Linked DNA regions of Homo sapiens: region 1 is linked to region 2. The links are contacts of gene promoters, found by promoter capture Hi-C in blood cells and fetal thymus (Javierre and others, 2016). All regions are on one chromosome and are shown on one strand. The core of a region is centred on a gene start or on the middle of the fragment in contact, and the rest is flanking DNA. Distances in the headings are between cores, read along the strand shown.

Evidence for each region. Contacts are between HindIII fragments. The CHiCAGO score rates a contact against its expected background, and 5 or more counts as called.
Region 1: the fragment with the promoter of SLC6A19 here is called in contact with a fragment that was not itself captured in region 2 in 1 of 17 cell types (M0 macrophages); the score reaches 5.6 in M0 macrophages.

What each region holds. Positions count from the first base shown.
Region 1 is chr5:1,197,281-1,203,704 of GRCh38, forward strand. SLC6A19 (solute carrier family 6 member 19) reads left to right here and starts at 4,315. Exons shown (of 12, transcript NM_001003841.3): 1 at 4,315-4,572. The coding sequence starts at 4,371. The HindIII fragment of the contact is 15,195 bases long and covers 1-6,271 here.
Region 2 is chr5:932,154-938,521 of GRCh38, forward strand. No RefSeq gene overlaps it. Among named protein-coding and RNA genes, the nearest start is that of TRIP13, 42 kb to the left of the region's middle. The HindIII fragment of the contact is 1,026 bases long and covers 1,535-2,560 here.

The DNA of each region.
Region 1 (6,424 bases), core at 3,065-5,564, 270 kb after region 2:
GTACTGTGGGAGTTGGGTACTGCAGGGGTTAGGTACTGTGGGGATTGGATACTATGGGAGTTGGGTACTGTGGCAGTTGGGTACTGCAGGGGTTGGGTACTGTGGGGGTTGGATACTGTGGGAGTTGTGTTCTGTGGCAGTTGAGTAGTTGGGAGTTGGGTATTGTGGCATTTGTGTACTGTGGGAGTTGTGCACTGTGAGAGTTGGGTACTGTGGGAGTGGGGTACTATGGCAGTTGGGTACTGCAGGGGTTGGGTACTGTGGGGGTTGGATACTGTGGGAGTTGTGTTCTGTGGCAGTTGAGTAGTTGGGAGTTGGGTATTGTGGCATTTGTGTACTGTGGGAGTTGTGCACTGTGAGAGTTGGGTACTGTGGGAGTGGGGTACTATGGGAGTTGGGTACTGCAGGGGTTGGGTACTGCGGGGGTTGGGTACTGAGGGGGTTGGGTACTGCGGGGATTGGGTACTGAGGGGGTTGGGTACTGTGGGAGTTGGGTACCGTGGGGGTTGGATACTGTGGGAGTTGGGTTCTGTGGGAGTTGTGTACTGCAGGAGTTCGGTACTGTGAGAGTTGGGTACTACGCTTTGTTTTACATATACGAATGCTGGGCCTGAGGGCACTAAGAACTATGGGGCCAGTGGCCCAGCAAATGTGGTCCAAGTTGGTTTTGGTTGCTACCCCGCAACCTGGTTGCCTCTGCAGAAGTTTCTAGAGGCACTGGGGAGAGGAGGAAGCCTCAAGGCCACTGGCCCCAGGCACCCTTTAAGTTGGGCCCCAAGGCCCCTGGGAAACTCAGGTGTGTCCAGTGGGGCTTGCAAGGGGCAGGGACCCTCCACACACATCTGGGCTCATGCCTCCAATCGTCTTTGGTGTGGACTCTCCCACAAAGCTCATTCAGAAGACCTGCCCTTAACCATCCCACGCTCATTCTCCCTTGCTGGTCCTTGGGGTCCAGGAGACACGTCCTCCCCATCTGAAGACTGTCCTGTCCCCTCCGCCATTCCTGAGTCCCCACTCCAGGCCTGGGCCAGCCACTGACTCTCTCTCTCTGTCTGTCTCTGTCTCTTTGTGTCACTCTGTCTCTGTTTCTTCCCCCTCTCTGTCTCTGTCTCTTTTTCTCTCTCTGTGTCTCACTGTCTATCTTGCTCTGTCTGTGTCTTTCTCTCTCTCTCCCTGTCTTTCTCTGACTTTCTTTCTCTGACTTTCTTTCTCTGTCTCTCCCTCTCTCTCTCTATCTCTGTCTCTCTCTGTCTGTCTCTGTCTTTCTCTCTCTGTCTCTCCCTATCTCTTTCTTTGTCTCTATCTCTCCCTGTCTCTCTTTCTCTATATCTGTCTTTCTCTCTCTCTTTTTGTCTGTCTCTGTCTCTTTCTCTGTCCGTTTCTGTCTCTCTGACTCTATCTCTGTCTCTCTCTGTCTCTGTCTATCCCTGTCTCTCTTTCTCTGTCTTTCTCTCTCTGTCTCTCCCTATCTCTGTCTCTCCTTGTCTCTCTCTGTTTCTGTCTTTCTCTCTCTCTGTCTCTGTATCTCTCTGTCTCCCCCATCTCTCTCTCTCTGTCTCTGTCTTTCTCTGTCTCTATCTCTCTGTCTTTGTCTATCCCTATCTCTCTCTGTCTCTGTCTCTCTCTGTCTTTCTCTCTCTTCCTGTCTCTCTGTCTTTCTCTCTCTTCCTGTCTCTCTGTCTCTGTCTCTCTGTCTCTGTCTCCCCATCTCTCTCTTTTTCTGTCTCTGTCTCTCCATCTCTGTCTCTCCCTGTCTCTCTTTCTCTGTCTGTCTCTGTCTTTCTCTATCTCTCTGTCTCTCTCTGTCTTTCTCTCTGTGTCTCTCCTTGGCTCTCTTTCTCTGTCTTTCTCTCTCTCTCTGTCTCTCCCTCTCTCTGTCTCTGTCTCTCCCTCTCTCCTTCTCTGCCTCTATCTCTCTGTTTCTCTTTCTCTGTACTTTCTCTCTCTCTGTCTCTCCCTTTCTCTCTATCTCTGTCTCTCCTTGTCTCTCTTCCTCTGTCTGTCTCTGTCTTTCTCTCTCTCTGGCTCTCCCTGTCTCTTTCTTTGTCTCTTTCTCTGTCTCTATCTCTCTGTTTCTCTCTGTCTCTGTCTATGTCTGTCTCTCTCTTTATCTCTGTCTCTCCCTGTCTCTGTGTCTCTGTCTCTCCCTCTCTCTTTCTCTGTCTTTCTCTTTCTCTCTGTCTCTGTCTCCCCATCTCTCTTTTTCCCTGTTTCTGTCTCTGTGTCTTTCTCTCTCTGTCTCCATCTCTCTCTGTCTCTCTGTCTCTGTCTTTGTCTCTCTCTCTGTCTCTGTCTCTCCCTCTCTCTGTCCCTGTCTTTCTCTGTCTGTCTTTCTCTCTGTCTCTCTCTTTTTTCTCTGTCTCTCTCTCTCTCCCTGTCTCTCTTTGTCTGTCTCTCCCTGTCTCTGTCTCTGCCTTTCTCTCTCTGTCTTTCCCTCTCTCTGTCTCTGTTCCTGTTTCTCTTTCTCTGTCTCTGTCTCTCCTCGTCTCTGTCTCTACCTCTCTCTGTCTTTGTCCCTGTCTCTGTTTCTGTCTTTGTGCCTGTCTCTCTTTCTCTGTCTCTCCTTGTTTCTGTCTCTCCCTGTCTCTCTTTCTCTGTCTCTGTCTTTCTCTCTCTGTCTTCCCAAGTCCCCACCCTTCCCTCCAATCTGCGCTGTGCTCGGAAGCCAGGAGTCCTTAAATGCAAACGTGATCTCTTCCTTCTGGCCTCCCTTTCTGAGTTCCTGTGTCCTAGGGGCAAAGGTCAGGCGCCTAAACTCGCTCATCTCTGAGTGACGCCCCCAGCGCCTTCATCTCCATTACTCAGCGAATGTCGATGAGCCCTGTGCAGGGTGGAGGTGGGGGCGGGGGCGGCTCTGGGTCCTTATCGCCCAGCGGTGCAGACTGAGATAAAGGAACCAGGAGGCTAGGGAGAAAGTCCCATGCCTGCCGGGAAGGCCCCGGCTATGGAAGGAGCCATGTGGGCAGTGGGGGCAGGGGGCCAGCGAGGGCCCCCAGGGAGGTGAGCCCAGAGGCTGAAGGAGGCAACGGGAGGAAGGCCTGGGGAGGCGCAGGGTGTGGCACCGTCCCTGGCCTCAGGAAGGCTGGTCCGGGATTCCAGAGCTTGAGGTCTCCTAGATGGGAGAGACGTGAGGGGAGGCCCAAGTGGGGGCCCAAACGGGCAGCGCCCGACAGAGGATGGCCTCCAACTCCCTGTGCGGAAAACCAGGAGAGAATCCCACTCTGGCTTTGGAGACACAACCCCCAGGATCCTCTCCTGAACTCCCCGCAACGTTCCTCCTGCCCCTCCTGGACCCCGTGGTCAGCCCTGTGGCTTCCCTGCACGGCCTCTTTGCTGGGGAGCAGGAACACCATCTCCTTCGCTGTCCCATGCCCGGCACAGGACTGCCCCCCACAAAGTGCTCCACAGAAGGACAGAAACCGTGCAGTCACCGGGAAGGTGGGGATCTGGGGTGGCTGCAGGTTCCATGACACAGGACCCTCCATCCCCCGTGACCCCAGAGGGCCCTTGGGGACGAGGCTGCCCTAGAGGGTGGCTCTGGGTCCTGAACCTATGGCCGGGAGCTGAACTCCTCCTGCTCGATGTTCTCCAGCTCAGCCAGGGATGGGATCCGGGCATCCAGGCTGGGGTTGGGCAGCGTGAGCTGTTCATTATGAAGTTCATTACGAACCCCAGAATGAAACTGTGGCCCAGGGGGCACAGCCACGGGAACCCCACTCTCAGGTTGATTCAGGCCACATCCCAAGGAGCCGTGGTTCCGTGGGGACTGGTGGGAAGCCGGGCCCCCGAGCAGCCGTCTAGAGCCCAGAGCCAGGCTGGAGGGGTCCAGGGCCTCGCTGTGCTTGGTGTGAGCAGACCAAGAGCTGCCCCAGGGCCCCTGCTCCCGCTGAGTTCCCTCTCCCTGGACTGGGGTGGGGGCCGGGGATGCCTGTGCTCCAGGGAGCTGTGGAGAGGCCCACCCGGCGTCCTGCAGGTGGGGGTGTGCGGCAGCCAGGGGCTCCCAGACCGGGGCAGAGCCAGCATCCTGTTTGCCTTGGTTCTTTCTCCCCGGGGTGCACCGGCGTTTGTACGCATTTGTGTGTGCGTTTGTGCAGGGGGAGGGGTGGCCAGCGCCCACGGAGCAGCCTCCGGTTGCCCGAAGGCAGTGGGTGGCTCTGCTGGCCCCGGGGCCGGGCGTCTCTGCAGATAAGGCATTAACAGTCCCTCCGCAGACGCACCCTGCAGATCTGCTGACGACTGGCTCCGTTCTGCCCAGGTGCCTGGGGCGAGGTGCCAAAGGTTCTCTATAAAGTGCCCGGCTCCCGGCCCACGGCCACTCGCCCTCCAGCTTCTGCCCTGCCTGCTGTGTGCGGAGCCGTCCAGCGACCACCATGGTGAGGCTCGTGCTGCCCAACCCCGGCCTAGACGCCCGGATCCCGTCCCTGGCTGAGCTGGAGACCATCGAGCAGGAGGAGGCCAGCTCCCGGCCGAAGTGGGACAACAAGGCGCAGTACATGCTCACCTGCCTGGGCTTCTGCGTGGGCCTCGGCAACGTGTGGCGCTTCCCCTACCTGTGTCAGAGCCACGGAGGAGGTAGGCTGGCCGGGCGGGGCTGCGGGCGAGGCCGTGGCCAGGGAAGCACAGACACACGCAGAGGCCCTGGGCAGACATCCTCCCCGGACCCTCGGCTCCCCAAGCACGGAGGGGAGAGGAGAAGCCGCAGGGTGTGGGGGGAGCTGGGGCCCCCACGGGCCCCCGTGCCCGGTTCCTAGGCTGCTGGTGAGGAGATGGGCCTGGCCGGCACGACCCCAAGACTTCGTGTGGGGCTCCAGGGAGGGCCCTGTGTTCCAGACTGGCAGTCCTGGAACGTTCTGGCCTGAGGGTGGGGCCGGGGGAAGGGTGTTTCTCCCGGTACAGCCCCTCCTCGGAGGACGCGGGGCTGGGCCCTCCTGGGCATCACCTCTCGTCCCAGCCCCACAGGCGGACACCTGCCAGTGCAGGGAGCAGAGGAGGTAGCTGGGTTGGGGGCAGGTGACCCTAGAGGAGCAGAGTGGGTAGCCGGAGCCTGTGGACTCGGGCCTGGCTCTTGAGCCAGGTGCCCTCAGGCCTGGAGGCCGGGAGCCGCTGTGCCCACCCAACACACAAGCCTGACTGCTCCTCGTTCCTCTGGCTCCTGCGGCCCAGGTAGGCATGGCCGCTGCTGGCACAGAGGTGACATTTGTGTTCCTGCCCAGTGGTCCTGAGCATCTGAGAAGTGGCTCCCAGGCCTGGCAGGGGGCTGTACCTAGGACCCCCACACTTGAACTCAGCCTTGGGCTTGGCGAACCCCAAAGCTGCTGCCCTCATAAACCTGCTGCTTTCTCAGCGGAAGGTCCAGGAGGGCCGGGCACCCTTGGGAAACAGGCTTCCTGCTGCCCTGGGGCAGTTCACGGGGGGGCCGTGAAGGTCTCAGCCTCCGTTTAGAGGAGTCTGCCCTCAGGGGGCCCTGTTCCTTCTCACCATGGAGAGCTGCTGTCTCTCACGCGGGCTTTGTGATGTGAAGGTTTTTAAAGAAAAACAGAAATGGGCTTTTCCTGAATCAGTTTCGCCTCCAGCATTGTCAAGGAGTTGATCACTGCCTTGCGGGGGTGGGCGCTTCATGAGCCTCTGGTCCAGCCTGCACTTTCCACTGGAGGCAGGTCGGGGGACCTTGGCCACTCCGATACTATAGTCCCTGACAGTCCCCAAGTCTCAGCTCACCAAAGCCTCAGGGGACTTCCTGGCCACTGTCCTCGCCCCCTCCCCCAGGGCCCTATCCTGTGGGGAGGATCCCTGCGCTCACCCACACCCTGAGTTTGTTTAGCTTGGAGGAGAAACTGAGTCACAGGCTCACATCCCCACTGGGGATGGAGGGGCAGACACATGCCTCCTGGGAAGAGGAGGGGTTGGGACTGCCTGAGCCTGCCTGGGAAGTTATTTGTCTTTGCACAGAAGGGCAAGTTCTAAGATGCGGGCTTGGGCAGGAATCTGATGGGGCTCCCAGCACCTCAGATAGTCCCCGCTCTGACACCCAGAGACCAGCCGCTGTGCACGGTGGAGCCTGGGAGCGAGCAGCTTTCAAGCAGCGGGTGCTGGCGCTGCACCCTGGGCCATGCTGGGGTGGACAGGTGCGGGCAGCGGGCAGCGGGCAGCGGGTTCCGGGCAGGCAGGCCCAGGTGAGGAGGGCCGAGCAGGGCTCTGGGATGTGCTGGGTCTCAGATGGTCCCACTCCTGGGGTGGACACCAGCAGGCCCTTCTCCCCAGACCCCAGACAAGCTTCCCCTGACCTGGCCCTTCGGCTGGGCCACCAGGTCACCTGCTAGACTCTGAGGGCCACTGTCACCTGGGCCCCCATCAGCTGCGGCATCGCAGATGGCTCCACAGGGTTCTGGCAGTCGCCCCGGCCTGGAGGAACCCTGTGCCTTTT
Region 2 (6,368 bases), core at 798-3,297:
TGATTCATTTTCCTTTCCATAAACTCAGCCAAAGAGAGTCAAAGGCTTCCTTTAAGACACTCTCTTTTCTGTACTTGGACCTGCAGTGTGGCCCCTGGGAGGTGGACAATGACTTCACTCTCAGCTCACAGCATCCTTGCGTTCTGTGTCAGGGGAGCAAAATCCCATGTGAACTGGGCACCCTCCCTTTCCACAGACATTAACCCCCAAACGTGAGAGCGGGCTCCCAGCCACCTGGAAGGCAGCAGCATCCACGCCGCCGGAGCTGGTGTCTGAGGGGCAGATGGCATGGACAGGCTCCTCCCTTCAGGCATTGCTATGTCCTGGGAAGGAACAGAGAGAGGAATACAAGGATGATGGGAGTCAATTCAGTAATTCCAAGTGGGACATTAACATGCCAGCCCTCTGCTCACTGAGGGACAGAGTGGTCTGCCCAGAGGAAGCATGGTAGCCTGGGCCCGAGCTGCGGGACTGAGTGGCTGCCCTCCTGAAACCCACCCTCCTCTGTCCAAGAGCAGGAGCTGTGTTCAGCTGGGCAAGGCTGATGACTGAAGCCTGGCTGCTGGTGCCTGGGAATAAATCAGAGGCTGACGATGGTCACTGGAGAAGAACAGCAACAAGGCATCAGTGACGATTGCCACCTGTCAGTCGCCTCCTCAGAACCACATCCTGAGCTGAGCTGTGACTAACTTGACCTCTGCACCTCTGTGAAAAAGGATATGGCTGCCCGTTTTCCAGCAAGGAATGAGGACTGAGGGCAGCTCTTGGCTTTGGTTGGCCAGGGCTTGAACCTTCTGTTTCTGGGCAGAACTAGAGCCATAAGGGGTGATCCAAAGGGAAGGCAATTCCTGGGTTCACCCATAAACTCATAACAGAGTTGTTATACTTTCTGCTGAGATAAATGACTTCTTTTATTTCCCTTTTGGAGAACAATTGCCCAATGTTCTGGCTAGTTTTTATTTGGCTTAAATTTTGGAATGAAAGGAAAGTATGACCCATTAGTGAAGCTGGATGTGAAGATGGAGAAAGTGTGTATGCCTGTGTCTCCATGAGAAAGACAAGACTAAGCAAGAAATACTAACCCCTGAGCAGCAGGTCAGGCCCTCTTCTGGAAATGAACCTAAAGTTAGGTCTCTGTGTACTTTCTAATTATATTAGTCTGTCTTCACACTGCTATAAAGAACTATCAGAGACTGGGTAATTTATGAAGAAAGAAGATTTAATTGACTCAGTTCTGCAGGCTTAACAGGAAGCATGACTGGGAGGCCTCAGGAAACTTATAATCATGGTGGAAGGTGAAAGGGAAGCAACGCACATTTTCCTATGGTGGAGCAGGAGAGAGAGAGTGACGGGGGAAGTACCACACACTTTAAAACTTTCAGATCTCATGAAAACTCACTATCATGAGAACAGCAAGGGGGAAGTCAGCCCCCTGGATTCAGTCACCTCCCACCAGGCCTCTCACCAATTCAACATGAGATTTGGGTGGGTACACAAATCTAAACCACAAAATTTGACCCCTGGCCCTTCCCAAAGCTTACGTCCTTCTCACATTGCAAAATGCAATTATCCCTTCTCAACAGTCCCTGAGTCTTAACTCATTTTAGCATTAACTGAAATCTCCACAGTCCAAAGTCTTATCTGAGACAAGATAAGTCCCTTCCAGCTATGATCCTGTAAAATAAAAAATAGTTACTTCCAAGATATAATGGGGGTATAGGCATTGGGTAAATGCTTCCATTCCAAATGGAAGAAATTGGGCAAAAGAAAGGGGCTACAGGCCCCATGCGAGTCCAAAACTCAGCAGGGCAGGCATTAAACCATAAAGCTCCAAAGTGATCTCCTTTGACTCTGTGTCCCACATCCAGGCCACACTGACACAAGGAGTGGGCTCCCATGGCCTTGGGCAGCTCTGCCTCTGTGGCTCTGCAGGGTACAGCCACCATGGCAACTTTCATGGGCTGGTGTTGAGTGCCTGTGACTTTTCCAGGTGCATGGTGCAAGCTGTCAGTGGATCTACCATTCTGAGATCTGCAAGACAGTGGCCCTCCTCTGACAGCTCCACTAGGCAGTGCTGCAGTGAGGACTCTGTGTGGGGGCTCCAACCCCACATTTCTCCTCTGCACTGCCCTAGTAGAGGTTCTCCATGAGGACTCTGCAGGCAGACTTCTGCCTGGACATCTAGGCATTTCCATATATCTTCTGAAATCTAGGCAGAGGTTCCCAAACCTCAGCTCTTGACTTCTGTGCACCTGCAGGCCCCACACCATGTGGAAGTCACCAATGCTTGGGCCTTGCACCCTCTGAAGCCATGGCCCAAGTTGTACCTTGGCCCCTTTTAGCCACAGCTGGAGCTGAAGCAACTAAGATGCAGAATGCCATATTCTGATGCTGTACAGAACAGCTGGGCCCTGGGCCTGGCCCATGAAACCATTTTTCCCTCCTAGGCCTCTGGGCCTGTGTGGAAGGGGCTTCCATGAAGGTCTCTGACATGCCCTGGATACATTTCCCTCATTGTCTTGGCTATTTGGCTCATCTTTACAAGCAAATTTCTGCAGCAAGCTTGAATTTCTCCCCAGAAAATGGGTTTTCTTTTCTACCACATGGCTGCGCTGCAGATTTTCCAAATTTTTATGCTCTGCTTCCCTTTTAAATATAAATTCCAGCTTTATATAATCTCTTTGTTCACGCATATGAGCATACACTTTTAGAAACAGCCAGGTTGGCCGGGTGCAGTGGCTCATGCCTGTAATCCTAGCACTTTGGGAGGCCATGGCAGGTGGATTGCCTGAGCTCAGGAGTTCAAAACCAGCCTGGACAACACGTGAAACCCTGTCTCTACTAAAAATACAAAAAAAAAAAAAATTAGCTGGGTGTGGCGATGTGTGCCTGTAGTCCCAGCTACTCTGGAGGCTAAGGCAGGAAAATTGCCTGAACCCAGAAAGTGGAGGTTGCAGTGAGCTGAGATCGCTCCACTGCACTCCAGCCTGGGTGACAGCAAGAATCTGTCTCCAAAAATAAATAAATAAATAAAAATAATAAAACAAAGAAACGGCCAGGTCACATGGTTACATGTTGAACACTTTGCTGCTTAGGTATATTTTCCACCAGATACTCTAAATCATCTCTCTCAAGTTGAAGTTCCACAGGTCTCTAGGGCAGGGGCAAAATGCCACCAGTCTCTTTGCTAAAGCATAGCAAGAGTCACCTTTACTCCAGTTCCCAATAAGTTCCTAATCTTCATCTGAGACCACCTCAGCCTGGACTTCATTGTCAATATCACTATCGGCATTTTGGTTGAAACCATTCAACAAGTCTAGGAAGTTCCAAACTTTCCCACATCATCCTATTTCTTCTGAGTCCTCCAAACTGTTTCAACCTCTTCCCATGACCCAATTCCAAAGTTGTTTCCACATTTTCAGGTATCTTTGTAGTAATGCCCCACTTTCCTGGTACCAATTTTCTGTATTCATCCATTCTCACACTGCTATAAAGAACTACCTGAGACTGGGTAATTTATGAAGAAAAGAGGTTTAATTCACTCAGTTTCACAGGCTTAACAGGAAGCATGGGTAGGAAGCCTCAGGAAACTTACAATCATGGCAGAAGGGGAAGCAAGGTACATCTTGTGGTGGAGCAGGAGAGAGAGAGCGAAGGGGGAAGTGCTGCACACACTTAAACCGTCAGATCTCGTGAGATCTCACTATGATGAGAACAGCAAGGGAAGTTGGCCCCTTGGATTCAATCACCTCCCACCAGGCCCCTCCTCCAACTTGACATGAGATTTAGGGGTGACACAAATCCAAACCATATCACTAATCTTCCCTTGTGGCGAGATGAGCAGCTCAGTGTTTGCACAGCCTGAGGAATGAGTGAATTGCTGCAACTTAAACTTCCAGCAGGCAGATGACAAGCTGTCCATTCGACACAGTCAAAGGCTTGGTCTTACGCTGCGTGTGTGACTACAAGCAGACCCTCTCTCGCCTGCGTGAGGAAGTGGAGTTGATACCTATTACATGGCTCAACACTTTAGTCATCGGGTCCTCAGGAAGTTGGAAGCCTCTAAGCCCAGAGGCAGCCTGGACCCTTCCTCACAGATGCTTGGTGCTGGCAGTCCCACACTGTCCCCCACGGTGGCAAGCGGTGGTGTTTCTGGAATGTTCCACTTCACCCTCGTTCCTGTGTGTTCTCCTGCCCATGGTCTGTTGTCACGAGGCCTGTGCCCTGACGCTGGATCTGCCTGTCTCCGGCCGCTGCTGGGTCCTGCTCTGCACCTTCATGAGAAGCCATCTAGGAAAGTTTCTTCTTGTTTCTCCCGACTGGGGTTCATTCCCATGGGACTGGGGAACTGGGACTTTGCCCCGCTTTAAAGTTCTCCCTCTGGCTTCCTCCGTGGGCTATAGCCCTGACCCCACCCCAGCACGGAGAGAGCCAGTCGGCATCCTGGCTGCCCACTCAAGCTGGTGCCGTCACAGGGAGAGGCTGGGTTGGGAATCATGACGTCTTTGGATAGAGAGCTTTGCTTTTCACCTTCATGCCAGTTGTTTTCATGAAATCCACAGAAACTTCCTTTAGAAGAAGTCTTACCTAGAAGCCCACCCTGTAAATGAAGTGAAACAGAATTCTCTGGTGAGAGGAAGGTGGAATCTGGGACCCCACAGGTGGTTCTGTGGCCCCCTAGAGACCCCCTTCTGTGGTGGCTCCAGAATGTGGCCCCATGTGGTGTGTTGGTGGCTTCCCATGACATGTGTGCCTGTGCCCCCCACGCCATGTCCTCTTCTTGGTGCATCTGCAGCCCCCTCATGTCTGAGGCCTCCTCAGTGCTCTCTTTCTGGGCCCCTATCCCCATAGCCTCCACCTCCTGTGGCATGTCTGTGGTCCTCTCCTTGGTGCACCCATGGAGAGGTGCACCTCTGTCGTATACTGAAACACATCCGGGCTCTGCAGAGTTCAGCAGGCCACGCTTCTACTTCAGGCTGCCTTTCAGGAAGAAAAGTTTCTTCCCCAGCTTGGGGATTGTGATGGGAAAAACAAGATACCGGGGAGGGGTGATAAAAGAGGAGTGTGGTGGGAACTTGTTCTAGGAAAAACATTCAGTGGCGGACTTCCTGGAGAGGCTTGGACCTGAGCTCTTGGGAAGCTTTGCAATCTCTCCCATCGTGCTGAAGGGGAAACAGAGGCCGTGTAGGTTGCTGGGGCCAGTGGGCCTGTGCCTTGATCCGCCCGGAGCAGGCTGGAGGATTCAGTGTCTTGGTCGCCATGATCCCAGACACCATGCTAGGTGACATAGAGCCTCTGGCAAAACAAAGGGGACAGACTGGCTCCTTCCTCAAGAGGGAGTGTGTTGCTTCAGTAAAGCCACCCTGAGCTTTAAGGCAGAGTTTTAGGGTAAGAGTTCAGGCAGCTGAAAGCCATCAAGTCAGCGGGGCTGAGATCCTCCCAAACTGGGGCAAGGACCAGGGCTTGGATGTCAGAAGTAAAGTCAGAGGCCGTCTGGGCCAAGGGGACCCCTGAGCACACACTATAAGCATGGCGGGCGGTGGCAGGACTGCACCTGGGCACTGAGTGTCCACCACCTGACACCCCTGGGGAGCAGGGGCTGGCATCCCAGGGCTGCACCGCGACCCAAGGAGAGGCTCCTTGACCAACAGTTGCAGGTTGCAGCTCCCAGGTGTGGAGCACACTTGAAGATTCTCACTCTGGTGACCCAAAGCAGGATCAGCTGTGGATGCTTGTGTTTTGTTTCGCTTAAAGTTTCCCTTTTGTGGCTGGGCGCAGTGGCTCACGCCTGTAATCCCAGCACTTTGGGAAGCAGAAGTGGGTGGATCACCTGAGGTCAGGAGTTCGAGCACAGCTGGCCAATGTGGAGAAACCCTGTCTCTACTAAAAATACAAAAATTAGCTGGTCCTGGTGGCGCACACCTGTAATTCCAGCTACTCAGGAGGCTAAGGCAGGAGAATTGCTTAACACCGGGAGGCAGAGTTTGCAATGAGCTGACAGGGTGCCACTGCACTCCACCTGGGTGACAGAGCAAGACTCCGTCTCAAAAAAAAAAAAAAGGTTCCTTTTTGTCCCATGTCCATGTTCTCGGCATGCCGGGACCACTGCCTGTCCGTGGAGGTGTCTGGCCCAGCAGGGTCACTGCTGAGCAAGCAGAGAGGTGGGCCCATGTTCCGGGCTGGGCTGGGAACGTATCCCTGACTCCAGGCCCAGGACTCAGGACCCACAACCTCCAGGACAGACCTCAGCCCAGTGGCCCTGGCTTTGGGGTCAGGGCTGAGGCTGGTGGCAGCCCACCCACCCCTGGTGTGGCACTCATACCACCTCCTCTGGACCGGGCCTCTCGTCAGGAGAGGAAGGCTCAGGG